2 separate regions of the Homo sapiens genome follow, and region 2 is linked to region 1. The links are contacts of gene promoters, found by promoter capture Hi-C in blood cells and fetal thymus (Javierre and others, 2016). All regions are on one chromosome and are shown on one strand. Each heading gives the region's core, a stretch centred on a gene start or on the middle of the fragment in contact. The rest is flanking DNA. Distances are from core to core; before and after follow the strand shown.

Region 1 (7,492 bases), core at 1,510-4,009:
ACTCAAAGCTGCATCCCCATTGTCTAGCAGGTATTCAATAAATATTTTTGAATAGGATTCCACCAGTAGATGGCTAGATTTGAAAGATATGCCAAATATACTGCCAATCCAAAACTCAGTGGAATCTTTCACTTGCATGAGTTAACTGCACCTCTAAAATTGAGAATGAATTTAAGATCCACCCCGTTAATATCTCTATTTTAAGAAGAGAGGTACTTGGGCTGACATTAAAGGAGTACCTGGAACTGGGCTGAGTGTGTTACATGTTACTGTATTTAAATCCAGCAACCTCTCAAAGGACCTGCCAGTGACACCAATGGGGTTCAGACACACATGTGCCTCCTATACCTATACCTGGGTGGTGTGCAGTGGGCACTGGAGGCAGCCTGCTTTCTGCATACCCTCTGCCTCCCTCTTCAAGATGGACATTCTATCAAGTGCTCATTTTAATTGTGCATTAGGTCACAAGAAAACAGGGCAGAGACCACACTTCAGATTTCAGAAATGCCTCACATCTAGTTGGTGGAATGCCAGGCTCTAGGCCCAATTCTGTCATTATCTAGGTCCAGCTGTGTAATTCTGGATACTTAGCTGACCTTTCTGGGCCTCAACTTTACACCCGCAAAACGGGTTTGTGTGGCTATATGGATGGTCTTGAAGGAACACTCCAGCCCCATCATTCTATAATTTGGGAATAGGATGTGGTTTTTATTAACCTATTTTGCTCTGGACACTGGCACCTCACATCTTCTATACAGAATGTTGCCTTAGAAGTCTGGGGAATACGGTGCTGGCATCATGGAATCTCTACGGCAAAGCTGTCATCTGTTCTAAATTAAAAGAGAAATCAGCAGGCAGTCCTAGCACCATATGTACCTCTTAATTTTATATCCAGAAGCTTGCCAAGACCAAAAATACACACTATTCAATATTTACATCAGGTCTCTGAGAATCCCATTGCCCATTCTGCACTTAAATGCACTGCATTAATTTGAAGGGAAACCCTGTGGCAGGGAGAATGCTAACCAGATTAAAGTAAGACTGTTTTAAACACCATTTCTCCATTTTTAATGGCGCTTGAAGTGTATTCCTGCAAGGATAAGGTGAAAAGTTGTGGCCTAATGATACCTAACACAATAACTTAATAATTTTTGGGGAAAAGATCATTCAAAATTAATCTCAGTTCCCCCACTTATAAGCACTACCACTTAATAAGCTTCTACCATGTGCAACATAGACAATATAATTCTAGCCCTCCTAGCAAATTCTGCAGTAAAATTCTCAGTTTATAGATGAGCACCTAAGAGAAGTCACATACTTCACACGAGTTTCATGAAAACCATTTCTGCCTTGTTTCCGCCAAACAATGAAGGCAGGGGAGAGGCCTTCTATAAATATTTGCTGGATGCAAGATTCTTTTCAAAATGACAAAATAAGTTTCATATATAAGTCTGGATGCAACACCCTTCACCATTCCTCTCATTCTAAGTGGCTCATTTAAACCTGCAAGGGCGTAATAAACTAATCTGGCTGATTACACACTGACCGCAGAAATTCGCCTTCTCCCGGGAAAACTGCAGTCGAGTGTAGGGAATCGAGATGCTTTGGAGAAGATCGCAGACCTTCCTATCCCATAGGCCAAAAATTTCTAAAAATCAAACAAGAACGCATTCTTAGCCAGTAATAAACTGCCTAGAAGAGGTCTTAAGTTTTATCATCAATTTTTCTTTACGTGCTGTAATTCTCTCTCGGAATACTAACCAGGAGAGAAGTGTTTAAAACCCCAGGGAAGCCAGCTGCTACTCTCAGAACTCGTGCCCTCCTCAGCACAAAGCTTCCCACCGCACAATGACCCCTTGTATCAAGGCCTCTCAGGGCCTAGGGCACAAGGAAATTGAACTCTAACTTGCAAGGCTGCAAAACAAAGCAGTTTCAAGCCAGAGGCCTCCAAACAGTGCAGCCCTAAAAACGGACGCCTGTACTCCTTTTCGAAGAAAGTCTCAGAATTCTTACAGTATTACGCTGCTGGGGAAAACTTCAGCGCGGAGAAGGCCTACGTTTGGAGGAAAAAGAAGCCGGAAGCATACAAAAGAGCAAGTAAGCAGTTCTCCCACGTGGGCCGCAGGCAACAAGCAGAGTCAGAGAGCGGAAGCTGGAGTCCCGCAAGGCACCAGGAGACGGTCACAGAAGCTGCAGGCGCCCGGACACCTCCTGACTCCAGCCGGGTGTCTTTCTTGGAAGAAGAGTGGTTCTCAGGAATGGTGGTGGCATGGGTGCAGCCTCTCCCATCCACGACCTCTCTCTCTAAAGGGGTGCCTACGCCCTACAGGGTGCGGGTGCAGATAAGCCAAAAGGTGGTGTGTGTGTGTGTGTGTGTGTGTGTGTGTGTGTGTGTGTGTGTGTGTGTGTTGGCGGTGCGGCAGGGGGATCATTTGCAAGCGTACCCTCTCCTCGCGCGGCAAGTGAGTCCCGAGTGCCGCGCCCCAGTCCCTCCCCGCGGCGGCAAGGGACGCACGGGCCGGGCGCATGGCCCCCGGAGGCGCGGTCCCCCGGCGCGGGGGCGAGAAGGCATCCGGCAGGGCGAACCGCTGCGGCTGGGAGGGCTCATCTCACCTTCACGGCGGTGGTGGTGGTGCCAGAGGCCATGTCTGCACGGGAAAGGAATCTGCAGTGGGCGAGCGCTCGGGACTAAGGGAACCAAGCGAGCCACAGAGCGGTGGCTGTGCCAACCTCACTGCGCGGGAGTGAGCAGTGCGGAGACCAGGGGCGGGCCTTGACTCCTCCTCTTCCTCCCCGGGACAGCTGGATTGGCTGCTTGTGTGGGATCTCCCCCGCCACCCCTTCCCCAAATCGAAGTTCCCGCGTTCCGCCCCTTTTGCAGACCTTTCCGGTTCTCCAGGTTTTTGTCGTTTTTTTTTTTTTTTTATCCCCAGTTATAACTAACGGATAATGATAATAATGGAGACCATTTATAGAGCGCTGTATTGTTCCAGACTGTGTGTTTTGCACTTTAATTGGCTTACTTAACTTTCGCTAAAACCTTATAAGGAAGAGCAGCACTCCCTGCTTGGCCCAATATTAGTGGCGTCGGAGGCCTCAGCTGCAAAATCTGGCCCGGCGGCATTCCAGAAGTTCTCGCGGGAGGGAGAATCCTCACCAAGGCGGGTACTGGCCGGCCACGGAGATTCTCTTAGGCAGCTAACGCGGGGCGGCCGCCGCGGCGGGGGCAAGATTTGTCCTTCCTGCGGCTGCGAACCCACCGCGGGTTTGCGTATTTCCCTTGATTCCTGGAGGACAGAGCTGGGATGGACTTGACCCAAGACTCAGGGATGACGAAAGGGAAATAAACAGAGTAACGTAGTACTGGATAATCTTTCTGATTTACGAACTATGATTTACTCATCTTCAATTTGAGGGGCCGCTTTTAGGGGGTTGAGACCTTGCACAACTCCCAGTCTGGCTCTACCTGGCTGGGGGCATCTTTAACCCGTTCTACGCCGGAGCGGCATCGAATACACCTGGATTCAGAATCCAAACTCAGGTCTCCGTCATTCAACACTAGCAGGACGCACACACACACACACCACGAGCCCTTTACAGGGATAATCCCTCATGCTTACAGCCCCCGTCCCTTCCCTACTGGGGTAATCCAATTTAACCTTCCTTGATGGATTAAGCGTTCTGAAACAAAATAATGGGTGGCAAGGATCTTAAGGGTGGACTCTGAGATGTAGAAATGCTGCAAATTAGCCTGGACGTGGGAGGAGGGCCGAGAAAGGGGATGCTTTCCTCTTTCCTTACAGCAGCAAAACACGGAAACAAAACACAAGTACAATTTAATTCAAAATACCACTGTGTGATGTTAGCCTGGATGCTGCTCATAGAACCTATTTACTTAAACAGTATAGACTTTCGTCCTCACATTACTATAAGCTTTAGGTCTAAATTTTCTCACAATGTAAAGTTTTCTTTCTTCTGTTACAATCATCTATTTCTTTTAAGTTATAAAATGCAATGGCAAAAGAAGAATGAAAGTAGAATCCGGGTGCTCCTTTGAGGAATAGGAGACAGGGAATCCTTCGCGGATGAAGACAATGTAGCTTTCTAGGGGCCTTTCTGCCGATTGCTCTATTGAGGAGCAGGAAGCCCACCACTCAGAAGTGAACCATTGAGGGCACAGGGATGCCCTAGGCTTTATGGCCGCTACCTAAGTAGGGGATCCTAGCCAACTTAAGTGACTTGATATGGTTAACAAGTCCAGTTTCTACTCAGCACTGCCTCTCTGCTAAAAGTTAGACGTTGTAACCAAGTTAGATCCTGTAAGCATAAAATACCCCTAGGCATAGGAGTTGGAAACTTGGCGAGGACCAGGCTGGACTTCTGGACTTTTCTACTATAACTTGCAGGTTAGGGCTCAAGCATTTGCTCTTGAAGATGTGATGTCTGTGAAGAGGAAATTCTTCTAAAGTTTGAATTTCATGTAAACTTACATGTGACAAAATATTATTCTACTTTTGATATTTTCTCAACCACTTAAGATTGTAAAAAAGCATTCTCAGTTCAAAGCTGTACAAAAACAGGTGGAGAGCTGGGTTTGGTCGAGGTCTTGGGCCATTGTTTTCCGCTCAGGGTAGTGCCTGAATCAGACGACCCCTTGCTACCCAGACTTGGATAACCCTTGGGCAGTCCTGTGGGACAGTGCTTTCTTTAGTGCAGTATCTTTGAAAAGGTAGGCAGTAATATTTTTGCCTTATTTCCAAATTTTGGGTCATGTTTTTTCTTAACAAGCCCTAAAATAAAAGGAAGACAAAATTTTCAATAATTTTGAATACGCAAAAATTTTCAGTGGTCTCCCTTTTTGATTACTATGTCAACAAGACAAGGAGAGTCGGTCTATTTGTGAACATAGATTTTGCCCTGCCCTTCTGTTCTTATCCTATAAATCCCCCTCTGTTAACCTGTACCCTTGCTTTTCTAAAGATAATTATCAAGAACTAGGTCACCTTACAACAATTCTGATTATGAAACAGTATAAGGATTCCAACAGCTTCTCCCTTTTTGATAATCTCTCATAAATGTCTTCCCAACTTCTAGGTCCTAGCCAACAAAGTACTGAAATGGTTATCACCAGTAGCTGACTATGTTGGGTCTTGAGCAGTGGTTCTTCAGTGTCCTACAGTTCCCTTTTACTAAACATGTTATTTTTGAAGTCGTCTCCAAACCATTCCAGAATCATCAAATCTTCAGGAGGAAGTATTCACACAAATGCATGAAATGTATCACCTCAGCCAACCATATCAGCTTTCCCACTGAATTGTTATATTTCTGCCCCTGACCAGTATGTCTGTCCTGGATGGGTACTACAAAATGGGCCCAAGCTGGCTGGTAACCCATCCTCATCTGAAGGTATTAAAGCTGGCAAGTTGTCATGGCCTAAGAAACTCACATAACTCCCCACTACCTTGTAGATATTTGGGCCAAAATAAAAATTCTAAATAACATGGAGGTGTGCTTAGAGATCCCCAATGGTGTGTGAATCACATCTTTTTACAATACACCTGTATCACAGCCACAATGAGTAGGGACATTTTGGCCACTACTTTTGACAATGGATTAGATTCCCACATTGGAAGCTTTGTGAAAAAGCTAAAGTTCTATTAGCAAGCAGCCACTCTAGATTTAGCAGAACATTGTTGAAAAAATATCTGGGGGAACAATAAGTAAACTAATTATAATAATGACAGTAATACATTTTAAAAATTATTGCATCTTCAGATTCTCAGCCAGGCAAGCCTATGCCAGCATGAAGAAGCCAAAGATGTCTGAACTGGTATAAATTCAGGTTCAAAATCCACAACATCATCGTTGTGCACAGTGTGGTCATTGGGAAGAAAAAAGTTAAACTCAGAGACTCAATGCCCTTAATAAAATTGTATCCAAAGAAACTTCTCCACAGGCAATTATCAGAATAATCAACTTCTCTTTATCCTGCCCAAGAAGGAAAAAAAATGTACTGAAAAGAAAATAGTGGCTAGTGTTTATTAAGAAGCAAAAGATATGCAAGTATGTACCAGGCCAGTCCTAAGGTACCCTTCTGAAAAAACATTGAATATAATTGGATAAATGTATAAGAGATTTGTCTGCAATCCAAGTTCTCTTAACACTCTTGATTGTAAATAACTGAACAAATTATTGATCTAAAAAATACAGCTATGTGTCTTTACCCTGACTCTGCAGTATAGACCATGATACAACATAAACATTAACATTTTAGTAACTAGAGACTTAGATATTTTTGTCATAGAAGGCCTAATTGAACCTTTCTAAATTTCTTATAGGTTAGTATGTGACTATTACTCTAAAACTTTAAGGAAATAAGAACAAAAAACAAAGAGAAGTGTTCCATTCTCCCATTATCATAGTGATAAAACAAAATAAGTAGTATGTCACAAGTGAAGAAAATATTACTGAAATCTAATATTAAAAATGCATTTATTGCAGGTACTTTATAGAGGGAATTGCAAGTGATATACTAGGTTTCTCAAAAAATATTTACATCACATTTTAGGTGGCAATTCCTTATAATGACCTTTAATGAAAGTGGAGAGTCCAGTTATAAAGTGTAACCTGGCATCTGTGTTTTTGGTTGAGGGAAGAACCCCATGCTTTAAAATGAGTTAAGTAGGGTCAGTTTTGACAGTCTGCTTTAAAGTTGGTATGCTCCAGATAGTTGGAATTAGCCATATGTTTCTTGTTGCAATAGAATCAAGTTCTCCTTCAGTTTTCTTTATTCGTTCCTTCTATTCAAAGTCCCTTTTACCCTAGAAATATCCTTCATTGCAAATCACCTTGTCTTGTCTTCAAAGTTCACTTCAAATTGTATCTCCCCTATCATTTCTGAAACTCTACTGAAGATGACTTAAGTTGCATATAATTTGGATTTTTTGAAGTAAAATCTCACCATTTTTTCACTTTTCTTAGATTAATGCTGCACATTAAAAGCATATTCAGGTTAACAGAATGGCCATCTACCCTGGACTCCCAGGATCTTCACATACCTATTATAAATAATAATAGGTATTATTATTTCTGTTATAGGATAAGCAAAGTGTAAGATTAAGCCCTGAACCCTATACCTCCCTCAGTGAAAGAGAGAGTATGTTCAATCTTGATCTGAAGAGACATGATTCTCAGCTTCTGTGCTTTGTATAGAAAAGGGCCAAAAAGTAATAGATACCCAGATGTATTTTAATATCACAGATGCAACATAATCTCTGCTTAGCGTGTCAGGATCTAAAGCTATGATGAAAGACCCATATAATGAGCTCTTATGTGACCCACTGCTCTTTATTCCACTTTAAAAACTTAAGGCAGGAAATAAGTCTAAAAGCATTGCTTTTCTTCTCTGGCAAATCCATATGTTGTCTGTACATACAATCCTAAAAACAAATTGGGAACAAAGTCATATTTGTCTTCTGAGCATCTTCAAGAG
Region 2 (7,347 bases), core at 205-2,704, 2.4 Mb after region 1:
GGCCATGATTTTGATAAAGTGCGGTCCTCATACATTGCCGGTGGGAATGTAAAATGGTTCAGCTGCTTTGGAATACAGTTTCAGTTTCTCCCTGAGTTGAGAATAGAACTACTATATGACCCAGCAATTTCACTCTTAGGTATATACCTAAAATAATTTAAAACAAGTACTCAAACATAGAAGAACTATTTACAGTAGTTAAAAGGCAGAAACAACCCAAATGTCTATTTATGGAGGAATGGATAAACAAACTGCAGTCTATATCTACACTAGAATATTGAGCCATAAAAGCAGTGAAGTACTGATACATGCTACGACTCAAAAGATTAGAAGACAGATACAAAAGGTCAATATTGTATGATTCCATTTTTATGAAGTAGGTACATCCACTGAGACAGAACACAGATTGGTGGTTGCCAGGCCTGGTCGAAATGGGGAAGGGGCAGCAACTGCTTTAACAGGGTACAGGGTTTTCTTTTAGGATGATGAAAATGTTTTGGAACTGTATCGATAGAGATGGTGGTTGTACAGCATTGTGAATGTACTAAATGCCACTGAATTGTTCACTTTAAAATGACTAGTTATGTCAATTTCACCTCAACAAAAAAATGACACACAGTACTCAGATTTTAAAAAGCATCATTTCACCAAGATTCCATGAATTAATGTGAGATGATCAAAGAGGATTCAGTAGAATCGTTCAACTTCGAATGTAAAACAGTCCTAAACTCAAACCTTTGTGACACTAAAGTGGGGAGATGGTATGTGATAGTTTTAGATAGTAAAAATTATTCTTGTTTACTTGGTCTCGAACTCGAACTTTTTTGAGGCGGAGTCTCTCTCTGTCGCCTGGGCTGCAGTGCAGTGGTGCGATCTGGACTCATTGCAACCTCCGCCTCTTGGGCTCAAGCGATTGTCGTGCCTCAGCCTCCCTAGTAACTGGGACTACAGTCGCCCCCCACCACGCCTGGCTATTTTACCTATTTTTGGCTATTTTACCTATTTTTATTAGAGACGGAGTTTCGCCATGTTGGCCAGGCTGGTCTCGAACTCCTGACCTAAGATGATCCGCCCGCCTCGGCCTCCCAAAGTGCTGGGATTACAGGCGTGAGCCACCGCGCCCGGCCTTGCCCTCCTATTTTGGTACCGTCAGATGCAAAGTGCCTGGGACAGAAGTGGGGCTCCGCTGGCGCCCAGCTCCAAAACCCAGGCAGCGTGGAAAAGACTAGACAGGGAAGGGGTTAGCCCTCAGAATTACACGCGGGTTTGCCTTACCAGACTACCACCACTGGCACAACCTCAGACCCACACCCAACCGACTTTACCTCCCAGGCCCTGATTAATCTCGCCCGGAAGTACCGCCCACCCATGCTCACTTCCGCTATCCCGTACTTCTGCTCATCTCGCGAGAACTGAAAGCGCCTATGTGACCTGCGCTAAGCGGAAGTTGGCCCTCTTTTCCGTGGCGCCTCGGAGGCGTTCAGCTGCTTCAAGATGAAGGTAGGTGATGGTGGCGAGTGTTAGACTGGGTTTGGGGAACGTGAATCGAGTCCCAGAACGCGGCATTGCCTCAGTTCCAGCACTCCAGGATCCTGGCTTTAGGTGGAGAAGGGTCTCAAGTAGGAGAAGGCTCGCCTTTCTGGGGCATGGAGCTTTTTGGCCGAACGGATGGCAGGCGATTGCGGCTGGAGCCGCGGCGGGCCGGGAGCGCCATGGTGGCGTCCCCGCGCCCAGCCGGGACGGATGCGGCGTGTTGCCCAGTTTGCGGCAGGCCTGTGGTGCGGCTCTTGACCCCGGCTTTCTTGCTTCGGGAGGGTGAACGGCTGCGGAGTGCCCTCGCCCCCAGAGTCATTCCGCGGGGCTTGAGGGGAAAACGTCCTGCTGAGTGCGGCGCTTCTTGACTGCTACTCTGCTTTCACGTGCTTTTAGTGAGTACAGTCGGCATCTTATATTTCCTGCTTGTGTGGAGGCAACATGAAAGGCTTTTTGCAGTGGAATTAACTTTGTAGATGGCTCTACAATTACCTGTATAGATAGTTTCGTAAACTATTTCCCCCCTTTTAATCCTTAGCTGAACATCTCCTTCCCAGCCACTGGCTGCCAGAAACTCATTGAAGTGGACGATGAACGCAAACTTCGTACTTTCTATGAGAAGCGTATGGCCACAGAAGTTGCTGCTGACGCTCTGGGTGAAGAATGGAAGGTAAAAGTTGACAAATTGTTGCAGGTATTTAAGTCAGAGACGGTAAACGCCATTGGTAACTGGTATTTGGAATGGGGTTCAGACTCCGGGTTCTGGCTTCTGACCTTTGGTAAGTTGCTTCCGAATGCCACTTTATAAAGTTAGAGGTATTACCTTGGAGGGGGGGACGTAGAGTAAGCCATAAAATATACGTAAAGTTTACATCAACATAATTCTTGCCCTGCATCATGCATTTGGCAATATGTCACATAGCTGTCCTCATAATCCCCAAAGTGCCAAAAAGGGTTGTATCTGATTTGTTTGTTGCTGTTTGATATTTTATCTTCTTAGTGCTGTTATCTCTAATAAAACATCGGTTAGAAATGCGACTTGAAAGACATTTGATAATTGAACTTGACAAGTTGGGAATATAGACAAAACTCACTGAACAGAGAAAACGTGCTTAAGTTCAAATTGGTTTTCATAATTATACTTTCTCATATAGGTGTGTTCACAGAGGTCACAATCCTGTACTGTATAATTTTGGAATAGAAATAGTAAATGTGTCATTCATTGTATGCTCTTGCAGGGTTATGTGGTCCGAATCAGTGGTGGGAACGACAAACAAGGTTTCCCCATGAAGCAGGGTGTCTTGACCCATGGCCGTGTCCGCCTGCTACTGAGTAAGGGGCATTCCTGTTACAGACCAAGGAGAACTGGAGAAAGAAAGAGAAAATCAGTTCGTGGTTGCATTGTGGATGCAAATCTGAGCGTTCTCAACTTGGTTATTGTAAAAAAAGGTGAGGGTTACTTGTGTTCAATTTTCGTTGAAATTGATTTAAAGCCAGTTGTCCAAATGCTTATTCATTTGCAGTATCCAGACTTACAGACCAATGGATTTGTTTCTCTACCATCAATTCAACATTAAACATTCTGATTTAGGATTCTTAAGGAAGTTGTTGAATTAAAATCTCTTCAACTGTTTCTTCTAAGGAGAGAAGGATATTCCTGGACTGACTGATACTACAGTGCCTCGCCGCCTGGGCCCCAAAAGAGCTAGCAGAATCCGCAAACTTTTCAATCTCTCTAAAGAAGATGATGTCCGCCAGTATGTTGTAAGAAAGCCCTTAAATAAAGAAGGTAGGAGGGATTATGCAATTAGGGCTTGCTTAATTTTGGTAATTTGTCTATCATTTTGTGTGCATATCAGAAGATAAATATGTGCCTTTGGAAGGCCTTAGCACTATTCACTTGGAGTTTTTACAGAAAATATTTGGGGGTGGCCAGCATACCCAGTTGGTGTTAATCCTTGCTTATTATATCCAGTGCCTTGTAGAGTGCAGTAATTTCGTTGAAAATCTGCTTGTGAATCTTTGATGTATACATTATCCAAAAATAACCTGACTTTAAGGTCATTGCTATCTGGTTTAGGAGTCACATGTTTGAGAATTCTGGGACTATTAGCACCACACACTTTGTAATTTTATATCAGATGTTCTAAATTATTAATATTTTTTAAGAGATGAGGTCACACTGTTGCCCAGGCTGGTCTTGAACCCTTGAGCTCAAGTGATGCTCCCACTTTGGCTTCCCAAAGTGCTGGGATTATGGGCGTGAGCCACCACACCCAGCCCAAAATTATTTTTTGGCTTACAAAAGAAGTTGCTTTAAACTTCTGTTTCATCTGTAGGATATGGATAACAATAGTTAAGAGTTGTGAGAATTAGAAGTTAGAGACCTTACTCAGAATACTAGGGAGCAGGTGTTAGGGATTTTGGAGCTTTACCTTTTAAGAACTTTTGTCCATATAGTAGACAACATACTCACCAGTGAGGACCTCAAATAGCAATATTTCTGTGGTGAAATTTGGGGATATTTATGTTAAATAAACAGCATGTCAGTCAAGGTTGGGTTTTCCTGACAAAATTTGAAAGAATTTCTCTGGATTTTGGTTTTCAGGACTGGTGTGACTTAACATACATGGCATAGATAGTATACGTCTGTTAAGTCAGTAATTACACTTACTTGAGCACAGGTACTGTTCAAGGTGCTGAGAATACAGTATAGACAAATTCCTACCCTTATGAAGCTGATGTTGCAAAAAAAAAAAAAAAAGCAATTGACAAATAGGTGGCAGTTGCCCATAATCATAGCCCTGGAAATAATCCGTATAATACAAGCGTGGTCTGGTTGATGGGTATTTTTAGATGGTTCTTATGTCTATAGTAGGAGGCTTAACATTTTAGCAGAATCTGAACATCTGAGCATTTAGCCTAAGGCAGTTAACTCCTACAAAGTGTCCATGAAACAAATACATCTGAAAAGGCCTATGCTCCAATGCAGATCTGTAATCCATGAGCAGTTTTGGAGTACAGATCAGATTAATGAAGATACTTTAACAACATGCCACCTAATCTGATGTTAATAGTTAACGTTACCCCTGAATTGGCAGGAATTGTCAAAGGAAATAGAGATGCAAGCTTACATCAAATTTAAAAGTATGGCAGGATGATTATGTAGATAATGTGTTAAGTGGTTTTCACAGACAAATTAACTATGCACAGTTATATATTAACATAATGCCACTGTATTTTAGTAAAACTGGAAGGTAGTAAAAGTTAGCCTGGTTATTTTTCAGGACTTGGTTTCCCTTATATTTTTATAATATTTAACCAATCTTCTAGATTTCTGTGGAGGGGCAAAAAGCATTTTAGAATAGTTCTGATTTGATTTTAAAGGCCTCATTATAGGTTTTCATAGATGCTGTTAAGCTTACGTTTATTTCTGATGTTTTTAAAGTAGATGTGGATTCTAACAAAACAAATATTGAAATGATTGAGTCCTTTGAATTTTTAGGTAAGAAACCTAGGACCAAAGCACCCAAGATTCAGCGTCTTGTTACTCCACGTGTCCTGCAGCACAAACGGCGGCGTATTGCTCTGAAGAAGCAGCGTACCAAGAAAAATAAAGAAGAGGCTGCAGAATATGCTAAACTTTTGGCCAAGAGAATGAAGGTTAGTCTAAGATGATTTGAGGGGGTGGGAGGAGTTCGACCTGGCTTTGGATTTGCGTCTTTAACCCAGAAAGGCCTTAACTGTTTGCTGTTTTGTTTTGTTTAGGAGGCTAAGGAGAAGCGCCAGGAACAAATTGCGAAGAGACGCAGACTTTCCTCTCTGCGAGCTTCTACTTCTAAGTCTGAATCCAGTCAGAAATAAGATTTTTTGAGTAACAAATAAATAAGATCAGACTCTGATCTCTGTTGACTTTTCATTGCTGATAGAAAACTACATAAATGAAGAGAGGGAAAGTTAGGTCATAGAAAATGGGGATATGTATATATGGTATTCCAATGGTGGATAAAGTCAGACCTATTGTGTGTGGTAGTGGAAGACAAGGTCAGTGTACAGGGGTTCCTTTCAGGGGATGGGTGGCACAGGAAGGGATTCTGAGCATAAGACACCTGCCTCTTCAGAATGGCATGGAACTTAGGGGAAATGATGAGGACTATTAATCTTTTTTATATAGTTTATTTTTGAGGAATATAGCTCTTTAAAGCACTATACACAATTTAATACATGAAAATTGACCTTGTGAAGATGAACATGTCTTTTTTAAAAGGTAACTTTTAAGGCATAGTTTTAGTGGATACCTAGTTTTAGTGGATACCATCCACTAAATGGTTTTTAAGCCATTTCAAATTTGTTTTAACAAAGCTTTTCAACTCCAGTGAATTGTTAGGCTGTTCACACACTGAAAAGGAAATGACTAAAAACATTCTTGGATCAGTGAAAAATGCACAAAGTATGTACTTTTTTCTAACAGTTCTATGCTGACTAGCCTATTGTGACAATATCAGGATCTTTAGAAGGTGGCACATTAGGCTTTAAGGTTGAAGTAATGCAAGCTCTTTGTTGGCATTACTGTAATAATAGCTTTACAAAGCAGAGTTCTAAATGTTAAATGTACATGTGAATCACCTAGGGGTCTGGTTAAGGCGCAGATAGTGATTGATAGAGGAGTGGGGACCCACATTTTTACATTACTAAAAAGCTCCCAGGTGTTAGGCCGGTAGTGCCAGTCCCTCGATGCCTACTAAGATTCTTAACTATTCCTCTTACTACATGGTGTTAAAAAGCTACATAACATGAAAAGAATCTTAGTTGGCAATCAATAATAATATGCAGAACTTAAAAGGCAAAGGGGATGGCCAGGTGGGGAGGCCAAGGCAGGTGGATCACCTGAGGTCAGGAGTTCAAGACCAGCCTGGCCAACATGGTGAAACCCCGTTCCTACTAAAAATACGAAAATTAGCGCATGCCTGTAGTCCCAGCTACTCGGGAGGCTGAGGCAGGAGAATCGCTTGAACCAGGGAGGTTGAGGTTTCAGTGAGCCAAGATTACACTGTTGTACTCCAGCCTGGGCGACAGAGCAAGACTCCCATCTCAAAAAAAAAAAAAAAAAAAAATTTAGCACAAGCAGAGAGAGGAACTTAAAAGCCACAAGGTGAGTCCAGTGTTATGGTCCAAAGTTTTATATTAACCAGTTCTTGTTTATGATGCACAAAACATGAGAACCGCCCTGCTTTCTGAAAATTGAGTGCAGCCACAAAATAAGGACAGTCTGTTTTTCCTTAGATTTTTTTTTTTCTTTGACACAGGGTTTCACTCCTACGCCCCGGATGGCGAGCAGTGGTATGGCTCACTGCAGCCTTGACCGCCTGGGAACTACAGGTGTGCACTGCGGCTAGTTTTTGTGCTTTTTGTAGAGTTTTGCTATGTTACCCAGGCTACTCTTGAACTCCTGGGCTCAAGTGATCCGCCTGCCTTGGCATCCCAAAGTGTTGAGATTACTACAGGCGTGAGCCACCATACCCAGTTCTCCACACACACGCAAGTCATTCTGACATGTCGTTAACTATGCAGGTTGTGATCAACCTGTACAATTCGTTCGTTGGAAGAAAAAAAAATCGCTATCGAACCCCAAACCAATATAAGGTACTGCTGAGTAATCTGGACTAATTTGAAAGATTGCTTTTAGAAGTTATCAGGATTAAAGTTGCATACAGTGCTACAAGTCATTCCAGGTACTTCTAAATCTTTCCATAATAATGTTTTTGTCTTGTAAATTTTTAGTGGTACCCTCTCTGTGGTGGGTATTGGAAAAAG

The links. Contacts are between HindIII fragments. The CHiCAGO score rates a contact against its expected background, and 5 or more counts as called.
Region 2: a contact is called between the fragment with the promoter of RPS6 here and the fragment with the promoter of MTAP in region 1, in 1 of 17 cell types (M2 macrophages). The highest score is 5.8, in M2 macrophages.

What each region holds. Positions count from the first base shown.
Region 1 is chr9:21,797,903-21,805,394 of GRCh38, reverse strand. It overlaps MTAP (methylthioadenosine phosphorylase), which reads right to left and starts at 2,759. Exons shown (of 8, transcript NM_002451.4): 1 at 2,614-2,759. The coding sequence starts at 2,646. RefSeq lists a cis regulatory region at 185-186, enhancers at 114-258, 1,917-2,126, 2,621-3,249, 3,250-3,880 and a silencer at 2,417-2,576. The HindIII fragment of the contact is 2,099 bases long and covers 1,837-3,935 here.
Region 2 is chr9:19,374,343-19,381,689 of GRCh38, reverse strand. It overlaps RPS6 (ribosomal protein S6), which reads left to right and starts at 1,454. Exons shown (of 6, transcript NM_001010.3): 1 at 1,454-1,500; 2 at 2,072-2,203; 3 at 2,772-2,982; 4 at 3,176-3,322; 5 at 5,039-5,196; 6 at 5,302-5,975. The coding sequence starts at 1,495. The coding sequence ends at 5,397. RefSeq lists an enhancer at 940-2,139. The HindIII fragment of the contact is 12,269 bases long and covers 1-4,664 here.